2 separate regions of the Homo sapiens genome follow, and region 1 is linked to region 2. Evidence: promoter capture Hi-C in human tissues and cell types (Jung and others, 2019). All regions are on one chromosome and are shown on one strand. The core of a region is centred on a gene start or on the middle of the fragment in contact, and the rest is flanking DNA. Distances in the headings are between cores, read along the strand shown. Region 1 overlaps LOC105378642 (a long non-coding RNA gene). Region 2 holds the start of GJB5 (gap junction protein beta 5).

Region 1 (6,055 bases), core at 2,904-5,403, 41 kb before region 2:
TAGATGAGACTGACTCAAGAAAGCACGTACAGCGTGGAGGGGAAAGCAGTGCAGGGCCAAGGCCAGGACCCTGGAGAGCGCTAGTGTTGGTAGGCATAAATTGCTCTACAGAAGAAACGGAATAGGAAAGAGAAGATGGTCTAGATGTGGGGTGGAGACTCAAAGAATATTGCCATGGAAGTGGGGAGAGAAGAGAAAGAAGGGAAGAAATGAGAGAGGGGGATGGGTCGACTGCTGAATGAAGGAGAACACTATAGAAAGAGATGTTGACAGGGAGAGGGGTAGGAGGAATATTAATTAAGGTGCAGGACAAGCTGCTGTACCAATGAGACCCATAAATCCAGTGGTTTGAATAAAATAGAAGTTTATTTCTCTCCCACACAACAGGCCAGAGGGAGAGAGTGTCAAGAGCAGTTGCGGGCAGTTCTTTTCCTCAAGGTCTCAAGAGTTCTTCTGTCTGGTTGCTTGGCCATCCCATAGGATCTTGCCTTTGTCCATACAGCCACAGCAGCTCATCTCCAGCACTTCCAGTTCCACCTCATTGAAAGGAGGAAACAGACAATGTTCACTGCAAATAACTTCCATATAAGGATGTGCTCTGGAAATTGCACACATCGTTTTAGCAAGAACTGAGTAGACATCCACATCCAGCTGCAGGGAGTCTGGGAACTGTGGTCCTGAGCTAAATGATCATGTTCTTCCCTAAAATTCATGGCTCCTTGACTAAAAGGAAGGAGAGAATGGGCATTTGGGGACACTTAACAAGCTCGGCCACTAGGTTCTAGGAAGTTGTGGTAGGTGTTGTGCAGGTGACAGCACCCTCTACTCAGGTTGATCAACTAGGCTTATCCACATTAATTCCATGACCCAATCAAATGGATAATCTTAGAAGATCCTGAAGAATTTCAGGCTCTCGATTCACAATACTTCAGCTGCCACCTGCTTGCCCACTCAGGATCCGGCCTCGCAGCCCAGTTAATGCTGCGTGATTTGCTGGCTGTGTCCAACCCCCTTTGCTCCCTGCTTCCTGGCCAGTCAGCTTAGCCCTGGAAATGCACACCAGAACCAAGCCTAAAGGAGGAAATCATCACATTCAGATGCCTTGCATTATGTAGGTCATGATTCCCTTTCTTATTTTTAACCTCTCCCTAACCACTGATTTCCTTCTCAAAATGCTTTCCTTTGGCCTGGCTTCCACTTAAAGCTATCTCTCTTTTTTTCCTCTCTCCTTCCCTTAACCAACATAATCACTGACTTGTTCCCAAACCTTCTGCAAGCTGGCATCTGCCCCATCACTCAGATAAAACTGTCACTGAGGTCATTAAATTTAATGGGCTCTTCCCAGCCCTCTTCCTCCTCCACCTGGCTGGATCTCATTAGACACAATTGACCACCCCTTCCTAGAACCTTTACCTCCCTTTGCTGCTATGATGCACCACTACACACCTGCCCCCCAGCTGCTCCCTCCTTCCCTACCTCCCAGTCCTGGTCTGTGTCTTTCTTTCTGTGACTCCTCAAGAAACAAAGACCAAGGCAATACCTAAGCAGGAACAATCATCCTGTTAGCCTGGGTTAGTGGAAAAGACATAACCTGAGCTCAAATCTGGATTTGCCACTTACTTGCTGTGTGACTTTAGCAAGTTACTTAGTATCTCTGAGCCCATTTCCCCCAGGGAAAAATAGGGATAAGAATGCCCTTCTTTCAGGCTTGTGTTATCAGGCTAGACAACTGCCTAATAAACAACCCCCAAAACCTTAGTGGCTTAACAAATGTAACATTACCATCCAATGAAGTTGAGCAGGGGCAGGGAAATACCACACAAGATTATAGGGCAATTGGGTCCAGTGGCCCTACATTCCCTAGGGATCAGAATCCTCCACTAGATTTCTGTTTCCACGGCCTACAAAAAAAAAAAGAGTAAATGAGTATGTGTAGAAGATTGTTCGTGATATTTAGGGGGGGCCGGGCAGCCACAAAAGTGGCATATATTACTCCTACCCACATTCCATTGACCAGCACTCAGTCACATGATTCAACCTTACAGCAAGGCATGCTGGGAAATGTAGTTCCAGGAAGAAAAAAGATTTGATGAACACATAGTATCCTGTCTACCATATGGTTGCTGTGAAAATGGAAATAATAGAACTAAATCCTGTGGCATTTCTGGAACAGAGTAGGTGTTGAATGAATAGTCGCCATTAATAAGAAAAAAATTAGAATTTTTTTTTTTAATGTTTGCCAACTTTCCCAAGTGCAGACATCAGCTGAGATAAATAAGAAGACAAAGGGAGCAGAGACAAAGAGAGAAACAACTGTTGTAAACAGGAATGAAAGTGCAGGCCAGGTTTGGGGAAGCAGGGATAAGCACAGAAGCAGGCAGAGAGTGGGCAGAGGGCTCACCGGGAATTGAGCACCATGGTACTCAGCACAGCCTCTGCTTTCCCGGCCAGCCCTGGCTCCCACCTGAGCCAGAAGGGGCTTAGAAAGATCTGAGTTTCCTTGGAAACCATTTTTCTGGCCCTCTCTGCACGTTATCAGCCAAGTTGGTTGTAATCAAACCCCCACGGGGCAGAGAATGAGCTCTCAAACTGCAGTCCTGGGGTTCTATCCAAATTGCTTGCATTTCCTATTTAAATTGGTAATTTCCCCATGAGTGTACCCCCTGCCCATCCACAGATTTGTTGGGAAGGGGAAGCTCTGGACGTACTACCCACCCCCCACCATCACCTCCTGCCCCTGACACAGCACAGGGGCCTTGGGAGTGCCTCCAAACAGCCCGGAGTCCTCTGCCAAAGCTGAAGGCCTCTGGCAAGCCCAGGCCTCCAGAACAGCCAGGTCAGAAGCTCCTCCCTCAGGCCCCCCTGTCCCACTAAAGACAATGGCCTGGACATGAGCAGGAGAGGAGGAGGACCTACACAGGCCACAGTAGGCGAGTCCTGAATAGTTGGCATCATTGCCAGACTAAATGTGGGGGTGTGGACTTCCTCTTGTACCTTTTGCAGGTACACCCTTTCCAAAGTGAAGGGTGGGGACTGGGCCAAGGCACCAGATAATCTTTTTCTTTTCTTTTTTTTTTTTTTTTTTTGTTTGTTTGTTGTTTGTTCGTTTGTTTTTGAGACCAAGTGTCACTCTGTCACCCAGGCTGGAGTGCAGTGGTGCAATCTCGACTCACTTCAGCCTCTGTCTCCTGGATTCAAGTGATTCTCCTGCCTCAGCCTCCCAAGTAGCTGGGATTACAGGCACGTGCCAGTACACCTGGCTAATTTTTTTATTTTTAGTAGAGATGGGGTCTCACCATGTTGGCCTGGTCTCAAACTCCTGACTTCAAATGATCTGCCCGCCTCGGCCTCCCAAAATGCTGGGATTACAGGCATGAGCCACCACGCCTGGCCAGATAATCTTGAAGTACTGACAGCCAAGGCTGCAGGACTAGGGAACAGCTGGGGAAGTCTCAGAATGTTAGGCAGAAAGATCCCAGAAGTTCAGAGGGGCACTCACCTTGACTCCCTCTGTCACAAGCCAGCCCTGACCACAGTGTAACTACAAAAAGGGAGAGTGGGCCCATGTCCCCTTTCCTTTCAGAATGGGCAGAAGATTCACATCAGACATGGTCAAATACTCCCAGACACACACTTAGCCATATTATACACATGTACACGTGCATACATACATATTAGAGAGGTTTGTGCGTGTGCGTAGACACATACCTGTGTACTTGAGGACATGCAATGTCATTCATACTGATCCCCCTCCTAGCATCCCAGCAATGTTCATGATGTATCTGGGCATATTCACAAACACGCTTCAGAACTGGGCTGAGAACTCAGTGCACGCCTGCACGGGACAGCCTCAAGGAACATATGTGCATGCTGACACAAGTCCAGCTGGCCGTCCTGGCATGATCACTGACTGACACATGTACTCAGACACACACATATAAGACTGAGGAAAAGGCAGAACCAGGCTGGGAGATGGACCCTGCTTTGCAGGTGGCTAAGTAGGGAGCAGCGTGTATTCCAAATTACTAGACAGCTCCAAGGAGATGAGGCCAAATTGGGTCTAATCCGAGGCTGCATCTGGAGTCCAGTCTGGACAGTAATTCATGTAGTGTCTTCATGGGTGGGGTTAGGGCCTTCATGGGGGAAGTAGGCTCCCAGACTGCAGTGGAAAACACAGACCAGGAGCAGCCCGTGGAAGAGGCCTTACTCCCAAAGGGGAAGCTGGATGTCAGGTTCTTATCCCAGTGCAGAAGACTAGGTAAAATCAGGAACCAGCCACTGGCCTGGGAACCTACAGTGAGGGGAGAGACCAGGCTGATGGGCTCTGGGTGTCCATAGCTCCCCAGCTCTCAGATCCTGTATTCAGGGAGACACAACTGGTACCAGGCCCACCCTCTGCCATGCTGGCTCCCCTCTCAGAGCCAGGCTAGGTCAGGAAGAGCTCAGGGACTTGGTAGGCAGAGCCTGGTGGCAGAGGACTATCAGTATCTATAGCAGAAGGGACTGAGGAAAGACAGGTCAGACACCCCAACTCCTGAGCCAGCCAGAACCTAGAATCTATTGTTCCCGCTGTTGCCAGGAAAACAACTGGAAGACTCAATCTCCACCTCCAGAACCTGCCTTCAGCCCCCTACCTCCACCCCAGCTGTAAGGGTCTTGGTCAGTCATATTCTGAGTTCAAGAGTCCTTCATCTCCCTTCCCACTGCAGTGAAGCCAGGAGCTGGGCTGTGCAACTGAGAGGAGTGGGGAGCAGGTATTCGGTTCTGATGCCCAGAGTGGCTGTCCCCACCATTTCTCCTTCTGCCCCAGCACTGAAAAGAATCCTGCAGAGCTTCACAGCCTGTCTGCTCCTTTCTAAACAGACAGGTGTAAGAGAGCTGAGAACTCCAGTGAAGCAGGCACAGCCAGCTGTCTGCAGCTGCAGCTTTCCACATTTCCTAGCAGAGTCAGCTGCGGAAGGAGAGACAGGAAGGGTGAAATTTCTAATCACTTGGAGTTTCCCTACCACCCAGCAGCTCTCTCTCTCTCTCTCCTTCCCTCCCTCCCTTCGTGTATGCTGCTCTGTATGTCTGGTGTCCTTCTACCTCCTTGTCTCCTGGAAGACTCTTATTTAACTTTCAAAACCCTGTTCAGGTATCCCCACTGCTTTGAAATCTTTCCCTAGCACTCCCTCTGTTTGACTAATTATTTACTCCTTTCTCCAGGCTACCTGCATTTATAGCTTGTGTTGTGATTATCTGTTCATACCAGGATAATCAGGGATGCCTGGGATGCCGGGATGCCTGACTTCTCCACTTGACTGTGAGCTCCTTGAAGGTAGGAGCTTGGTGACACTTGTCTCTGTACCCCAGCACCACTACAGGGTTTCAGAGAACACGTCGAGGAGAAGGAGTGTGATATAGCAGTTAAAAGCATGGGCTCTGGAATAAGCCAGACCTGAGTTTGAACCCCAGGTCTGCCTCTTCTAGCTGTGGGAGTTGGACATATTGTTTCAGCTCTCTAAGCCTCAGTTGTTCCAAATATGACATGGGAAGAATAGTAATGACTGTCTCATGGATTGTCATGAGTAATCAATGATACAATGAATATGGAGAGGTTAGCCCAGTACTGGGCACATTAATAGCCTTTCTTATCATCCCACCAGCATCTGGGCTGTCGATTCTATGTTGAGTCATCATAGTGACTCCATATAGCCCGTACCCCTGGAAATCTCACCAGCAAATGAATAATGACAATCAACAATGATGAGTTCCATGACAAAACTCTGGGGCCCTGGGAGCCTAGAGAAGGAACCACTAACTTCAGTGGCCATGCGATCTAGTGGTTAAGTGTATTGGCTTTGGTGTCAGGAAGTTCCAAGTTCAAATCCTAGCTGAGACTCTAACTAGCTGTGTGAACTTAGGTTAAGTTATTTAAACACTCAGAAACTCTGAAATGTGATGGAAATTTAATAACACAAAGATATAAATAATACAAATTTGACAAAAAATCAAATTTGTCAGGGGATAAGCAAGGAAGACTTCCCAGAAAACGTGACGTCAGGCCTTAATGAAT
Region 2 (6,083 bases), core at 994-3,493:
CCAACCCTCTTGCTCATTTCTTGCCTAAATCATTGCAGTAACTTTCATACCGGTCTCACAAGCCCCTCCAGCCTCTTTTCTCAAACAGAGGAAGCTTTCTAAACATACAGTTGATCTTCATTATTCACAGATTCCGTATTGTGCATTCTCCAGCTCACCACAATTTATTCCTAAGCCAAAATCTACACTTAAGACACTTTCATGGCCATTTATAACATGCACAGAGTGGCAAAAATTTGAGTCTCCCAATGCACGTGTTCCCAGCTGTGGCTGAACAAGGTGACATTCTGCCTTCCCCTTTCAGCTCTAATGCTATAAACATGTTCTATTGGAGGTCTACTTGGTGCCATGTTTTTCTCATTTCTTGCTTTTTGCTGGGGATTTGCTGTTTGAAATGGCCCCGAGTACAGTGCTGAAGTGCCATCTAGTGTTTCTAAGCACACGAAGGCTACGATGAGCCTTATGGAAAAAATATGTGTGTTAGACAAGCTTCATTCAGTCATGAGTTATAGTGGTGTTGGCTATGAGTCCAATATTAATGAGTCAACAATATATATTAAACAAGGTGTCTTCAGAAACACACATAAAACAGACTTCTGTATTGATCAGTTGATAACCACATTGTAAACAGAAGCTTGCAGGAACCTAACCTCATATGTCCTCTAGGAAGAATGCTTCAATATTCACTAACTTGGTGCTCATGGTGACTCATAGACTATAACTACCTTGAATAATGAGAATCAAATGTACCAATCTGACCATGTCTCTTCCTTTTTCCTGCCTCAGCACAATACAAAATGTAAAAATAGAAAAAAGAAAAGAATTCCCTCATGCCTCCCTCTGCACCCAAGATAAATTCAAACTCCTTAGCATGACATTCCAGGTCCTTCATGGTCTGGAAGGTCTTTGCTGACCTTCCAGGCTCCTTGCCATGTGGTGTCCCCACCACTACCCAGCCCACTCTCCAATGCTCTTCCATTATTTTTCACAAAGGTCCTCTGCACGCTATGTGCCCACTGCCTCAAAGGCCCCTCCTCAGCATCTCTTCTTGGTAAACTCCTATACATCCTTCAAGACCCAGCTTAAATGTTACCTTCTCCGGCTCTCCCTCTGGCAGAACTTAAAACTCCCTTCTCTCTCTGTGTCTTTTCTAGGACTTCTCACAATGTTGTAACTGATCTCTTTATATGCCTCCTCTCTCCTGTACTTGGCAACAGCTTTTTGGAAAGAGCATGGAGTATAGAAATGTGTGACTCTCTGCAGGGTGTGTGCATTTCACACATCATTCATTCAATAAATATAAATTGAAGCCTAACTGGACAAGACACCAGGCACCATACTAGGCACAAGGGATAGAGCAGTGAATAAAATAAAGCCACTGCTGCATGTGTGTGCAACACTGTGCCCATAATTGTGGCCTGTGTGTAAGAGTATGCTCATGTGAAGCTACATTGTGTTTGCTTGTGGACATGAGGTGTTTGTGGCTCCTGGATGCTTTGTCTGTTGAATCCTGACCCCAAGTGACCTGCTGATACAGGGCACCTTGGAAGTCAATTAGGCCAAAAGACCGTGTCTGTGCACTAATGAGAAGCTTTCCCCAGGTGCCCCTGCCCACCTTCTCCACCTCTCCTGTGGTTCCTGCCTGGCTTGGGTTTGGCCTTTTTAACCCAAAGACAACATGCATCCAAATGAGATTTTCTCTAGTGCATACGTCTCTCTCTCCCTCCCTTCTCCTCTGCCTTCCCTGTATCTCAGAAAGAAAAGGCCTAGGAATAAGGAAAAGGAGGAGGAAGAAACATTTTTTTGAGGACATACCATGCGGCAGGCCTGTGCTGGGCAGTATACACGCATTATAGGCAATTGTAGACAGGGCTTCCCTTGTGTCAGGCACTGTTCTAAGCACTTCACCCCTAAGGCTGGGTTAATCCACGTATCCACCCTATGAGGTAGGTGTTGTTCTTTTCCCACTTTCACAGAGAAGGCAAGAAATCACACAGTGAGAAAGTGGCAGAGCTGGGATTCAGGCCTCAGCTTCTCCCACACAAGCCCACAGATGGGAGGATGAACAAGGAGTCAGAGTGGACCTGTGGCTCTCCCCTGAGAGGATACCAGGATTCGAGGCTCAGCGCCCTGGGAGGAGTGAACCCCTCAGTTTCCTGAGCCTCATCAGAAGCAGTCTGGGGAGGCTGGGGCCCAGCCAATGGCAGTGCAGGTCCCAGCTCCTCCTCCTCCCAGGCTGGGCCAGCACACCCGGCAGGCTCTGTCCTGGAAACAGGCTTCAACGGGCTTCCCCGAAAACCTTCCCCGCTTCTGGATATGAAATTCAAGCTGCTTGCTGAGTCCTATTGCCGGCTGCTGGGAGCCAGGAGAGCCCTGAGGAGTAGTCACTCAGGTAAGGGCATCTGTGTCCGCATGTGCCCTGCCCCTTGGCATACGTGGCAGGAGGACACTTCTCTGCTGGGGAGTGGTGGGATGTGGCCTGGACACATCTGCCACCCTGGGTCCTGATGGTGGAGGAATAAGGGGCTCTGGGTTCTTTCAGGTCTCCCCAGCCGGGCAAAGGTAGGAGCAGGGGCCAGGCCGGAAGCTCAGCAGGCAGGGTAGCTCTGCCTGGGCCTGCAAAGCCCTGCCCCACTCCTCCCCAAGTAGGGATGGGCTGGGTGAGAGCCCCTGGGGCTAAGGGCGGGGCCTTCCTGGGTGTTCCCTGAGAAGCTGCAGGAGTCCTACCTTAGACAGGACTGAGCATGCAAGATGGTGATTCAAAACAGAGCTCCCCCCAACCCCGGCCCCCACCTCCACCCATCCCCCGTCCAAGTGGCGCAGGTGGTGTGGAGACAGGGTGGTGGGCAAAGGTTCCCCCAGCCACCCTCATCCAGGATCCACACACAAGGGGAAGGACAGAATCCGTCTGCACACAAACAGGCAGGCAGCTCATTGAAACTTGAGGAAAGGGTCTGAGGCCTAAGGCTGGGCAGTTCCCGGAGGGTGGGCTCTAGAGCCAGCCTGCCTGGGTTCAAATCCTAGCTCTGCCACTTATTAGCTGTGTGACGTTGAGCAAGTTAATTAATCCCTCTGTGTTCCTCTTTCCTCATCTGTAAATTGGGAATAAAAAATATGCCCTTTCCTAAGGTTGCTGTGAAGGAATAATGTACTGATTCATACAAAGAACTTAGAGCGGTGCCTGGCACGGCATGAATGCTTCATGGATATTGGCTGTTATCACTACTCTGCTTTGCAGTTGATCATGCAGAGGCTCCAGAGAGCCTGGTGAGCTTCAGCCTGGACCAGCATGGGAAGGCCATCATGAGCCCTTTAGTGGCTAGGCAGACAGGTTCCTTGGGGTCCCAGGGTGCACAGTTGGTTGAAACCACAGTGCATGGGTCTTAATGGACACACCCCCATCTCCAGGAATCAGGCAGAGGACTCGCGGGTGAGGAAGTGGGGACCCCTTACTCTGCCTAGCAGTCACAGTCCTTACGCGGAGGTGAATCTGATTCTGTGAGTTCATCAGGCCAAATTCACCAGCAGAACTGACAGGAGCAGCATTTCCCACTTGATGTCTTGACAAGGCTGTTCCACAAGATGATAAATGTTATGTCAGGAGGAAAAGGGCTTCTGTGGGCAAATGAGTTTGGGCAATGCCACATATTTCATACCTCTTTTGGTGAATTTATTAGTGAGTTTATTAGCACGGTTGAGCAAAAGAACCCTATTTAACTTTACTAAACCCAATGTTTGCCAACTTTTCTTGACACAGAATCCTCTTCTCTCACTTCTCCTATTGCCAACCTATGGGACAGGGTTCCAGGGAACACTGTTTGGGAAACACTGGAATACCAGGTTACTCTAGGAAACCTACTGTATGAAGAGAATTTATTGCTGCCTGCTTTAGCTTTCAGCTGGATTGCATTGAGTGGCACTTGAGCAGGACTCTGCCTGGCTAATTACAGAGTGTTAGACCAGATGGGGGCTTGGGGACAAGGTTCCAGCCTCCTTTCCAGTCCCATCCCTGAGCCAAGAAAAGGACAAAGAGCAGGTTCCCCTGGGGAAGGGGCTGTCTGAGAAGAGGCAGCAGTGCTCAGAAAGGAGAGAACCATCTCAAGGCTCAGCCCCCCTGAGGAGGAGGGCCAGGGTTGAAACAGAGGGAGCAGGCAGAATGTCCCAGCTCCACCAGTCTTCACTCTGCAGAACCTCAAGACCAGAGCCTCAGGCCCGGGGAGGAATGAGTGGCTCCCTGGACCTGCCCTTATCCACTGGTATTGGTAAGAGCTGGGTTCTGGACTTAATTACCTATGCTCAAATCCCAGCCCTGCACCTAATAGTTGTGTAACCTTGTATATAATGCCACTAAACCTCAGCTCCCTCCCTCTACAAAATGGGGACAGTAGTAGAACCCAGCTCCTCTAGTGATGGTAAGGATGAAATGTGATGACATATTTCTACAAAGTGCTCAGAGCAAGTCTGTGATAAATGTAGGAAATGATTGTTCTTGTTTCCCTGCAGTAGCAGCTGACGCGTGGGTCCACCATGAACTGGAGTATCTTTGAGGGACTCCTGAGTGGGGTCAACAAGTACTCCACAGCCTTTGGGCGCATCTGGCTGTCTCTGGTCTTCATCTTCCGCGTGCTGGTGTACCTGGTGACGGCCGAGCGTGTGTGGAGTGATGACCACAAGGACTTCGACTGCAATACTCGCCAGCCCGGCTGCTCCAACGTCTGCTTTGATGAGTTCTTCCCTGTGTCCCATGTGCGCCTCTGGGCCCTGCAGCTTATCCTGGTGACATGCCCCTCACTGCTCGTGGTCATGCACGTGGCCTACCGGGAGGTTCAGGAGAAGAGGCACCGAGAAGCCCATGGGGAGAACAGTGGGCGCCTCTACCTGAACCCCGGCAAGAAGCGGGGTGGGCTCTGGTGGACATATGTCTGCAGCCTAGTGTTCAAGGCGAGCGTGGACATCGCCTTTCTCTATGTGTTCCACTCATTCTACCCCAAATATATCCTCCCTCCTGTGGTCAAGTGCCACGCAGATCCATGTCCCAATATAGTGGACTGCTTCATCTCCAAGCCCTCAGAGAAGAACATTTTCACCCTCTTCATGGTGGCCACAGCTGCCATCTGCATCCTGCTCAACCTCGTGGAGCTCATCTACCTGGTGAGCAAGAGATGCCACGAGTGCCTGGCAGCAAGGAAAGCTCAAGCCATGTGCACAGGTCATCACCCCCACGGTACCACCTCTTCCTGCAAACAAGACGACCTCCTTTCGGGTGACCTCATCTTTCTGGGCTCAGACAGTCATCCTCCTCTCTTACCAGACCGCCCCCGAGACCATGTGAAGAAAACCATCTTGTGAGGGGCTGCCTGGACTGGTCTGGCAGGTTGGGCCTGGATGGGGAGGCTCTAGCATCTCTCATAGGTGCAACCTGAGAGTGGGGGAGCTAAGCCATGAGGTAGGGGCAGGCAAGAGAGAGGATTCAGACGCTCTGGGAGCCAGTTCCTAGTCCTCAACTCCAGCCACCTGCCCCAGCTCGACGGCACTGGGCCAGTTCCCCCTCTGCTCTGCAGCTCGGTTTCCTTTTCTAGAATGGAAATAGTGAGGGCCAATGCCCAGGGTTGGAGGGAGGAGGGCGTTCATAGAAGAACACACATGCGGGCACCTTCATCGTGTGTGGCCCACTGTCAGAACTTAATAAAAGTCAACTCATTTGCTGGTTCCAGGTGCCCTCTGGTTGTGCGGCCTTCGTGACCCTCACACGTTCATGGTGTCAATCTCTCTGCCCCCGTGAAGAGCTGCACTTGATCCAGCCTGTGAGGGGCATCCTCTCTTCCAGAAAGGGGGCCCCCAGTACTCCAGGGGACGTGCTACTTGCTCATGCTCCCATCTAGCCTTTATCCCCCATGGCAAGTTTAGTCCTGTGGGTTGTCTGCAGAGAGAATGGAGCTTAGTCCATGTTGCAGTGGGAAGTTCATGAACTTAGAATGCCTGTGTCGAATCCAAGTTCCACCGGGACTCTGGGAAAGTAACTTAAGCTTCTCTCCAAAATGGGTTAATAATACCTAGCCTGTGGGGTTGTGCTGAGGACTGAT

The links. Contacts are between HindIII fragments. The study calls those that stand out against the background at their distance.
Region 1: a contact is called between a fragment that was not itself captured here and the fragment with the promoter of GJB5 in region 2, in 1 of the 25 tissues and cell types used here (spleen).

Annotation. Positions count from the first base shown.
Region 1 is chr1:34,709,670-34,715,724 of GRCh38, forward strand. It overlaps LOC105378642 (a long non-coding RNA gene), which reads right to left. Exons shown (of 4, transcript XR_947174.3): 4 at 348-1,901. Among named protein-coding and RNA genes, the nearest start is that of GJB5, 42 kb to the right of the region's middle. RefSeq lists a silencer at 1-156. The HindIII fragment of the contact is 8,651 bases long and covers 1-6,055 here.
Region 2 is chr1:34,752,804-34,758,886 of GRCh38, forward strand. It overlaps GJB5 (gap junction protein beta 5), which reads left to right and starts at 2,244. Exons shown (of 2, transcript NM_005268.4): 1 at 2,244-2,392; 2 at 4,504-5,709. The coding sequence starts at 4,528. The coding sequence ends at 5,349. The HindIII fragment of the contact is 2,696 bases long and covers 1,113-3,808 here.